Regions from separate parts of the Homo sapiens genome. Here region 1 is linked to region 2. The links are contacts of gene promoters, found by promoter capture Hi-C in blood cells and fetal thymus (Javierre and others, 2016). All regions are on one chromosome and are shown on one strand. Each heading gives the region's core, a stretch centred on a gene start or on the middle of the fragment in contact. The rest is flanking DNA. Distances are from core to core; before and after follow the strand shown. Region 1 overlaps EPB41L4A (erythrocyte membrane protein band 4.1 like 4A). Region 2 holds the start of TSLP (thymic stromal lymphopoietin).

What was found. The method cuts DNA at HindIII sites, captures the fragments that hold promoters and counts their contacts. A CHiCAGO score of 5 or more calls a contact.
Region 1: a contact is called between a fragment that was not itself captured here and the fragment with the promoter of TSLP in region 2, in 5 of 17 cell types (M0 macrophages, activated CD4 T cells, fetal thymus and 2 more). The highest score is 6.7, in M0 macrophages.

Annotation. Positions count from the first base shown.
Region 1 is chr5:112,168,989-112,173,224 of GRCh38, forward strand. It overlaps EPB41L4A (erythrocyte membrane protein band 4.1 like 4A), which reads right to left. Exons shown (of 23, transcript NM_022140.5): 19 at 1,957-2,004; 20 at 1,313-1,381; 21 at 7-117. Among named protein-coding and RNA genes, the nearest start is that of SNORA13, 9.6 kb to the left of the region's middle. The HindIII fragment of the contact is 1,533 bases long and covers 1,280-2,812 here.
Region 2 is chr5:111,069,885-111,073,964 of GRCh38, forward strand. TSLP (thymic stromal lymphopoietin) reads left to right here and starts at 1,829. Exons shown (of 4, transcript NM_033035.5): 1 at 1,829-2,177; 2 at 3,004-3,048; 3 at 3,627-3,761. The coding sequence starts at 2,007. The HindIII fragment of the contact is 3,260 bases long and covers 1-2,188 here.

The sequences.
Region 1 (4,236 bases), core at 796-3,295, 1.1 Mb after region 2:
ACTTACTTCACTTCCGAGAGAACTGATCGCTCCCCATCTGAACACTGGGACCTGCGATACTGGCGGTAACTTCGTGGCGAATGAGAATGCCTGATGCGGATTGGGTCACCTTGTGTCCTGAACAAGCAACCAAGAAACATGAAAACAAACACCCAAAGTCAGAAAAGGAAAAGTAGGAGTTCTTAATATTGAAACCGCAAAAGAATAACAACTTTCAGAGTTTTAAAAAGAACTTGACTCCTAGGGTTTGAAAGCCTGAGTGACTTAAATTTCACAAGAAAAATGCTCCCTTGACAATATGTGAAAATGAAGCTCTTTAAAGTATTTGTGTGTATACATATATATATGTATGTATGTATATTTTTTAACAACCAAATTTTAAATGAAATTATTCCTTACCGTGGAATTCTTCTTAGTAGCGTGGAAGTAAACAAAATCTATAATGCAGACAAAATGGCATTCCTAATGGAAAAAGTTGGTCCGCTGTCCTAGCTACCAACATTAAGAATTCAGTCTTTACTTGAAAATTGCTAAGAAAGTAGATCTTAAGTGTTCTCTCCATAAAAAAAAAGTATGTGAGGTGATAGATACATTAGCTTGACTTCAGCATTTCACAATGTATACATATATCAAAACATCAGATTGTATAAACATACACAATTTTTATTTGTCAATTATACCTTAATAATTAAAAACAAATAAATAATTCAAATCTTTGACCTAAAGATGGGGACGGAGGGTGGCTGGGGTGTACCAACCTGCTATTTAACTGTGGTGGGAAAGCAGCATAGCTACAGAAGGGAAACAAAGCAGGCACTCACTTTCTCTTAACCAAGTACTGGTAAGGCAGAAAACACAGTCAACAGGTACGGTTCCTCTTACACTGGTGACTAAGGACTCCTGCTGTGCTTTCACGAAGCCTGCTCAATGTGCTGCTTCTATGCCAGGGATGGGACTGGGCTCATATGAGAGTTTTATGGTCAACATAATTCTCTTGGTGTAAAATAATGGATAAAAAACTTTATCAGTGAGAATCTCAGAAAAGAATTTATTTTAAAACTGACATTAATCAGGAAAAGCCCCCTTGTACCTACCAAGTACAAAGAGGTGGCTAATAAGAGATGATAGTGATTATAGTGTAGAATAAGTAGCTTTAATGCACACTTTTCTTCCTCTTTCGCTACTGTCACCTAGTTTTGTTTAAAATGTAAAGACAAATTAAAGCACTGTCTGGAACACAATTGAAGAATTAGAATGGATTACTCACAAGCACTAATAAAGCTTTGGTGAGAAGATTCTGAAAGGCACTCACTCTATTTTAGTGTATGGAATCTCTTTTAATTGTTCTTCGGACAATCCGGATGGATCCACAAGTTCTTTTCTGTAAAGGAATATGCAAGAAAATGATAGTTGTGGTGCTGGTATAAATGCTAGTATCTTTCACAATCGGCAGGTGAGTTTTCCCTTTCTAATCTTGTCCCAAAACAGTGTTAGTAAAACTAATGAAAATTTATAAAAACTAAACGTGTTCAAGGAAAAATAGGAGGGGTAAAACCTTTTCTGTAGCTCTTTTGCCTTCTTTCAATTCTTCTACATTCAGACTCCAGTCATTCCCCATTTCCCTATAAAAGATCTGCTTCTCTCCCCTGTGGTAGGTGTCTTTTTTCTTCTGGATTTGTTTTCCTTGGTATTTATTTGTAAACTATTGGCCTGTCTGAGGTCCATTTAGAGGCGAGACTAAATGACCCAAGGTGAGGAGGTGTCAGGGTTGCCTGTAGATAGGTGTTGATATGGTTAAGGCACCACCACCATGTGCTCCATGTGCCTGCCACACACAGTGGCAATGGCTTTGGCAGGCATCACGCTGAAGTTGCCTCTCAGTATCAGGAGTCTTCCTTGCAATTGCATTAAAACTACATGGGTTTTAAAACAATAAGAAAGAAAACTATTACTCACTGAATGTGCTTCCATAACTCTTCTTTTGCTTGGATATCGGGGCTTCTCCTATAAATAGAGAAAACAACATTCATCTCTGCAAACATGCTTCATCTCACAACCTAATAACTAACTTTAATAGTTTTCAGACTGTGAAGTTCTTATTTGCCAGCTGAGAACAGACAAGGAAAGACTGGACAGGGAGAGCCATTGTGATGGTTAGTATAAAGACACCAGCAGCTAAATTGCTGCTACTGCCGCTGAAGGAAAATCATAAAACCCAGTCATAACCAGAGCTTCATTTAATGAAAGACCTCAGAACTGCAGGGTCATATGCCTCCCCATCCAGTGGTAACTGTACAACGAAGAATGATTCAGGGCGTCTGTTTCTGATCTTTCCAGATATTTGTAAGTAATGGTAAAAGAAGAACTCATCCTGATTCTAAAAAGTTCCAACATGATCTGTGATTACCTAGGAGAAGCAACCACCAAAAGGAAAAAGCAACTGGTGGGATGGCCCTGATGGCAGACTGTACCAATGACCCATCTTTCATGTTACATCTGGTGTTGCATTTCTGCAACAAAACTTGGGCCAGCAAATGCTAGGACTATCAGTGGCCTTGGCTCATGCTGCCACCCTCTTTACGCCCTTCTCCATTCCTAACTATTGACTCTGCAAATCTTTTCTCCAAGAAGTATGTGAGCAGATATTATACCACTATCTTTAACTTCCTAGAATGAAAAATTCAGTCAGCATTCAAGTGTTTGTACTCTCTGTAGTATCAACTATTTCTCCCATTGTAGCAATGAATGCAGTGAAATCTATTATCACTGCAATTGTTGACACAGAATGATTTTTCTTCATAGTGAGAAAATAAGCTTTCATCAGTCCCTTTAAGAGAACAGAGATCTAGTAATAGGCCAAAAGAAAGAACAAATAATTAAAAGCCACTGATCCTATGGAATTGTATGTGATTAATCTGTATTAGCATTTGGGGGGCTCAATAATGCTTTTAGTGTATGATATCATTAATGCTTTCATTCTTCTCGATTCATAAGGGCACCACTACGGTATTCTGGTAGGGCTTCCTGAACCTACAGAATACACTAAGCTACTTTCCAGCCACTGAGTTGACCAAATGGTTTTTCCTTTGTGCAGGGGGAAAAAAGTGATCTGTCTATAAAGACCTTTTAATCAACTCAGGATGAGACAAAACATGAAAAGGAAAAAGGGATGAAATCTTGGTCTCAGACCAAATATGGTACTGTTAAATGTAGATGTTCTTTGTTTTAAGAATAAGATTAGGCTGGGCATAGTGGCTCAAGCCTGTAATCCCAGCACTTTGGGAGGCCAAGGTGGGTGGATCACTTGAGGTCAGGAGTTCAAAACCAGCCTGGCCAACATGGCAAAACCCCATCTCTACTAAAAATACAAAAAATTAGCTGGGCATGGTGGCATGTGCCTGTAATTCCAACTGCTTAGGAGGTTGAGGCATGAGAATCACTTGAACCTGGGAGGTGGAGGTTGCAGTAAGCCGAGATCACACCACTGCACTCCAGTCTGGGCAACAGAATGAGACCCTGTGCCAAAAAAAAAAAAAAAAAATTGTATGTTTCTTACAAATCATAGAAACTGCTTCCTTGGTGTCCTGTATGTATTCTGCCTTTCCTACATTTGGTTGGTCTGATTTGCTAGATAATATGTTAACCCCATTAAATGATACTGTCAGAGAAAGTGCTAATATTAAAAAGCACTAAGGTGTTATTCCATTCTGACAGAATGATGGTTCAGCTGTGACTATACCCCAGGATCTATTTCTTACAGTCAACCAAGAGTCTGAAGTATTACATAATATCCAGGTTAGGAAGCTATTCTACTGATCATTATTCTTATTTCAGGAAGGTATGATAGTGGGCATATCAGCTTCTTCTAGTTACAGCAGGGTTTCCCACCCTTGGCCCTACTGACATTTTCTATACTAATTCTGTGCTGCAGGAGGCTGTCCTGTGCATTGTAGCATGATCAGTAGCACCTGTGGCCTCTACCCAACTAGACGCCAGTAGCACCTCCCCAGTGTGACAGCCAAAAATGTCTGTAGACAATGTCCCCTTGGAAGCAAAACTGCCCCCAGTTGGAAAACCACTGATTAAGGGTATGACCTAGGAATTAAGTGGCTATGGTTGGGTGGTGGAAGCCAAGTTTTTGTAAAGATCCATTATGTGAGTACTAGAATAGTGCTGGAGAGAGTGACAGTACAGCAGAACCTAAATCTTAAAAGAATGGGAAAATGACCGAGGGTG
Region 2 (4,080 bases), core at 579-3,078:
GGTGACAGAAGCAGCCACCATGCCCTTTCCTTTGTCTCTTGGAGCTATCCCAGCCCAGTGAAGAAATCTAAGTTTAGCTCCTGTCTGCCTATATAATAATGTCCAGCTGCCGACCAGAATAATCTCTGATGTCACAATAGATTAATCAGGTTTTGGCATCATCCCACAATACCCTGAGAAGTTGGTGATGGGGGAAGAGTGGACTTTTTTTTCAAAGAATGCTGTGGTGACTCGAGTACAACACATGAAGAATTCCAGAAAAGAGCCATTTTTGAAGTCAGCGGTGAATCAGAGGTTTTCTGACCCTCTCGAGTGCCTTCTATGAAGAAGAGTTCAACTCTGGCTCCAGTTTGTCCCCTACTCTTTTCCCGAATCCCTCGACATTCCTTGCTCTTTTCCCCAGGCACCGCATGGCCTGTGACATTTGCTGGGACTCACACACGGCGTCCAACCTCCTTTCTCCGAGCGATGACTCCTAGGAACTTCCCAAGGACCAGAGCGATGCAGGCTCCGACACGCGAGGGCGGGGGGCGGGGGTGAGGGGTGCGATGGACGGGGGAGCGGAAGGGAAAGAGAGAGAGAGGGGACCTGGGTGTAGAGAGGGCCCAGGGCCGCATGAGCCAAGCCAGGGAGGAGCAGGGGGTTCATCTCAGCAACCTGATCGGTGTCGGCCTTTCCCTCCCTTCAACCCTCCATTGGTGTTGCTGGAACTGGGAAGACTGCTAGACAGACATCCTCTAGGGCACTCTCCCTGACTCACTTTGCTGTGCTTTTAAGCGCTCTTTTCTGGATCAACAAGAGTTTGCTAGTAAAAATCTGAGCCCGCCATCTCGATGCTTCTCCTGTCTCTAAAACTGGTGCCCGGGCTGAGGCCCCAGGTGACAGACGTTTTCCAGTCTACGCTGCGCGGGGCTAAGCCTCTGCGAGGCAGAGCGCACTAAAGCGTGCGCCGCCTCCGGGAGAGCTGAGCTCAGGACAGCATCGTCTCCGTGCGGTCGCCGCTGGGCACCCAGCAGCGCGGTCTGGCTCCGCTTCTTGTGTCGCTGGCCTTAAGAGTGGGACTGTGAAGGTGGCTGGGCGCTGGAATTTGTGGTTTTAAAAGTTCTTGACACCTGCTAGAAAGTGCTAGAGGACTCTTCAGCCCCTAAGGTGCCCCTAGCCACCAAGAGTAGGCGTTTTTCCTGAAATTGATATGGGAAATTTGAAAAGTAGGGTTTTTGAGAACAAGCCACATCAGATCTTTCCCCACTTATTTCAACCTCTTATCGTTCCTGCCCCTAAGGTTCTGGTCACGGTTGCACATTTAATGCTTTCACATGGAAGTGCTGTCGAAGACTGAGACTGCACCCCACCCTCCAAAGCATCCCATAAGCAAGCACAGTTTCTTACTAGCCAAGGAGAAGGGAAAGCACTAGTTGAAAGTGGCCACAGGAAATGCTCAAAGATGTTCAGAATGCATGGGACATATGCAAGGACTCCAAATCCTTACAGTGGCTGCTGGTTTCAGAAGGTGTTTCTCCCAAATAGAAAGGATTGGTCACGGAAATGCCCTGTAGGAGAAAGACACTGGTATCCGTTTCTTAAAGGACATTCACACTTATGAAGTGTTTAGGGCAAAGCAAAAAGGAGGAAGGTGAGGGAAATTCCTGATGACTTTACTGATGTTAAAATTCCATAGATTTAGCTACTCCTTTTTTTTTTTCCTTTCACATCATCAATTCAGAATTCTATAAAGGAAGAGAATGACATGGTAGAAAATCATTGGCCTAGGAGAAAAGAGCCCGTAGGCGTTTAGGTGTTATATAGTGCAGCCAGAAAGCTCTGGAGCATCAGGGAGACTCCAACTTAAGGCAACAGCATGGGTGAATAAGGGCTTCCTGTGGACTGGCAATGAGAGGCAAAACCTGGTGCTTGAGCACTGGCCCCTAAGGCAGGCCTTACAGATCTCTTACACTCGTGGTGGGAAGAGTTTAGTGTGAAACTGGGGTGGAATTGGGTGTCCACGTATGTTCCCTTTTGCCTTACTATATGTTCTGTCAGTTTCTTTCAGGAAAATCTTCATCTTACAACTTGTAGGGCTGGTGTTAACTTACGACTTCACTAACTGTGACTTTGAGAAGATTAAAGCAGCCTATCTCAGTACTATTTCTAAAGACCTGATTACATATATGAGTGGGGTAAGTGAAGAAGCTTTTTTAAAACAAATGTATTTTCATCAGAGGAGTCGGCATACACACACTCTACAATTTAACTTTGTAGGAAAGAAAAATAATTTAGAAAAAATCATGGCCCCACATTTTGTCAAGGATTCTTACAAGTGATATTCAAATATCTAATCTAAAATGATTATCTAGAAATTGGCACATTCTAAGTGTGCAGATGCTGATGAGGAGCAGGTATTGATAGACAGCGCGTTATGCGTCAAAGGATGTCTATCCTTTGCTAAAGTGTTACTCTGACTATGCTGTAAAAAGCAGGAGGTAAGAGCTTAAGAAAGAGGAGTAAAAGAGATAATTCTCATGAGATAAACTCTAAGGATTGATGCTGTGCTCCAGGTCTCTCCAGTGTTTTAGATGTTTCAGGATGCTATTTATTACAGAATATGGTGTACTTGGAATTTTTTTTAACATACAGTAGTAATCATTTTCCTGATTAACCTAATTTCTAGACAGAGTTTGCATTCATGAATGGCCACAGTACAGATGCGGACATCCAAAGGATGGCATTATTACTCACAAGCATAGTGCTATGTGCAGTTATGGCTTGAGGGAAGGGAGGGGGGAGGTCGCCCTCTGAGACCTGAACCTTTTGGTGTGGTTTCAAGCACTAACCAGCACTATCTAATGGCTATTTCACTGCCTTGTCAATGACATAGGAAAAAGGTACCTGAGTGGAAACTGTTTTCAGGGCACCTTTAAAGCCTGGGAGCAAAGGGTGGAGGGATGATTTTCCTTGTGGACTTAAAAGTCTTTACCCTCTTTGTCCTATTTTTCTTTCTTCCAGACCAAAAGTACCGAGTTCAACAACACCGTCTCTTGTAGCAATCGGGTGAGTAGAGAGTTCAGTGCTGCTGGCTTTCTCCAGGGAGACGCCAGGCATTTTGGAGAGGGAGTATCCTGCTACGTGCAGAACTCCGAGAGGTGCCTGGGCTCCGGGACGCCGCCGCCGGGGGAAAGGGGACATCTGGGCTGTCAGAGCGGGGCTGCGCCTAGCTTGGGACAACACTTCTGTTCCAATTTAGGGAGAGGAAGTCTCTATCCGGAGGAAAGGCAAATTGGGAACTGGGACGAGGGAACGTTGTTAGGGGCACCACCTGCTGGGGTCCGGCGCCTCCGCGCTCGGGCTCGGAATTTTGGCAGCCTCCGCCCCCTGGAGACTTGGGAGGAGCGAGCGTGGGTGACAGTCTTTTCGCGACGAGTGCCCTCCGCCACCCTCGCCACGCCCCTGCTCCCCCGCGGTTGGTTCTTCCTTGCTCTACTCAACCCTGACCTCTTCTCTCTGACTCTCGACTTGTGTTCCCCGCTCCTCCCTGACCTTCCTCCCCTCCCCTTTCACTCAATTCTCACCAACTCTTTCTCTCTCTGGTGTTTTCTCCTTTTCTCGTAAACTTTGCCGCCTATGAGCAGCCACATTGCCTTACTGAAATCCAGAGCCTAACCTTCAATCCCACCGCCGGCTGCGCGTCGCTCGCCAAAGAAATGTTCGCCATGAAAACTAAGGCTGCCTTAGCTATCTGGTGCCCAGGCTATTCGGAAACTCAGGTAAGCCCGAAGCCTCAGACGTTTGCTGTACCTTGGGGCTAACCTCAAATTAAACTGGGGCTTTGGTGCAGAAGTCGTTCTCTTATTTTTATTTAGGTTTTATCTTTCGAAGAGCAAACGAGCCGGGTAAAAGTGGTAGGATGTCAGTTAGACCCACGTTGATACCCGGAATCAAACTCACCTATTTCTACGGTTCTGATACTGTTTTGGCTGAATTATGGTTCTAAACCTTAGGGCAATGTTTCAAGCTATGATGAGTGAGACTTCTATATCAGAATGTTTTGATTGCTGGAGCATAAGAGTATGGCTGCTAAAAATG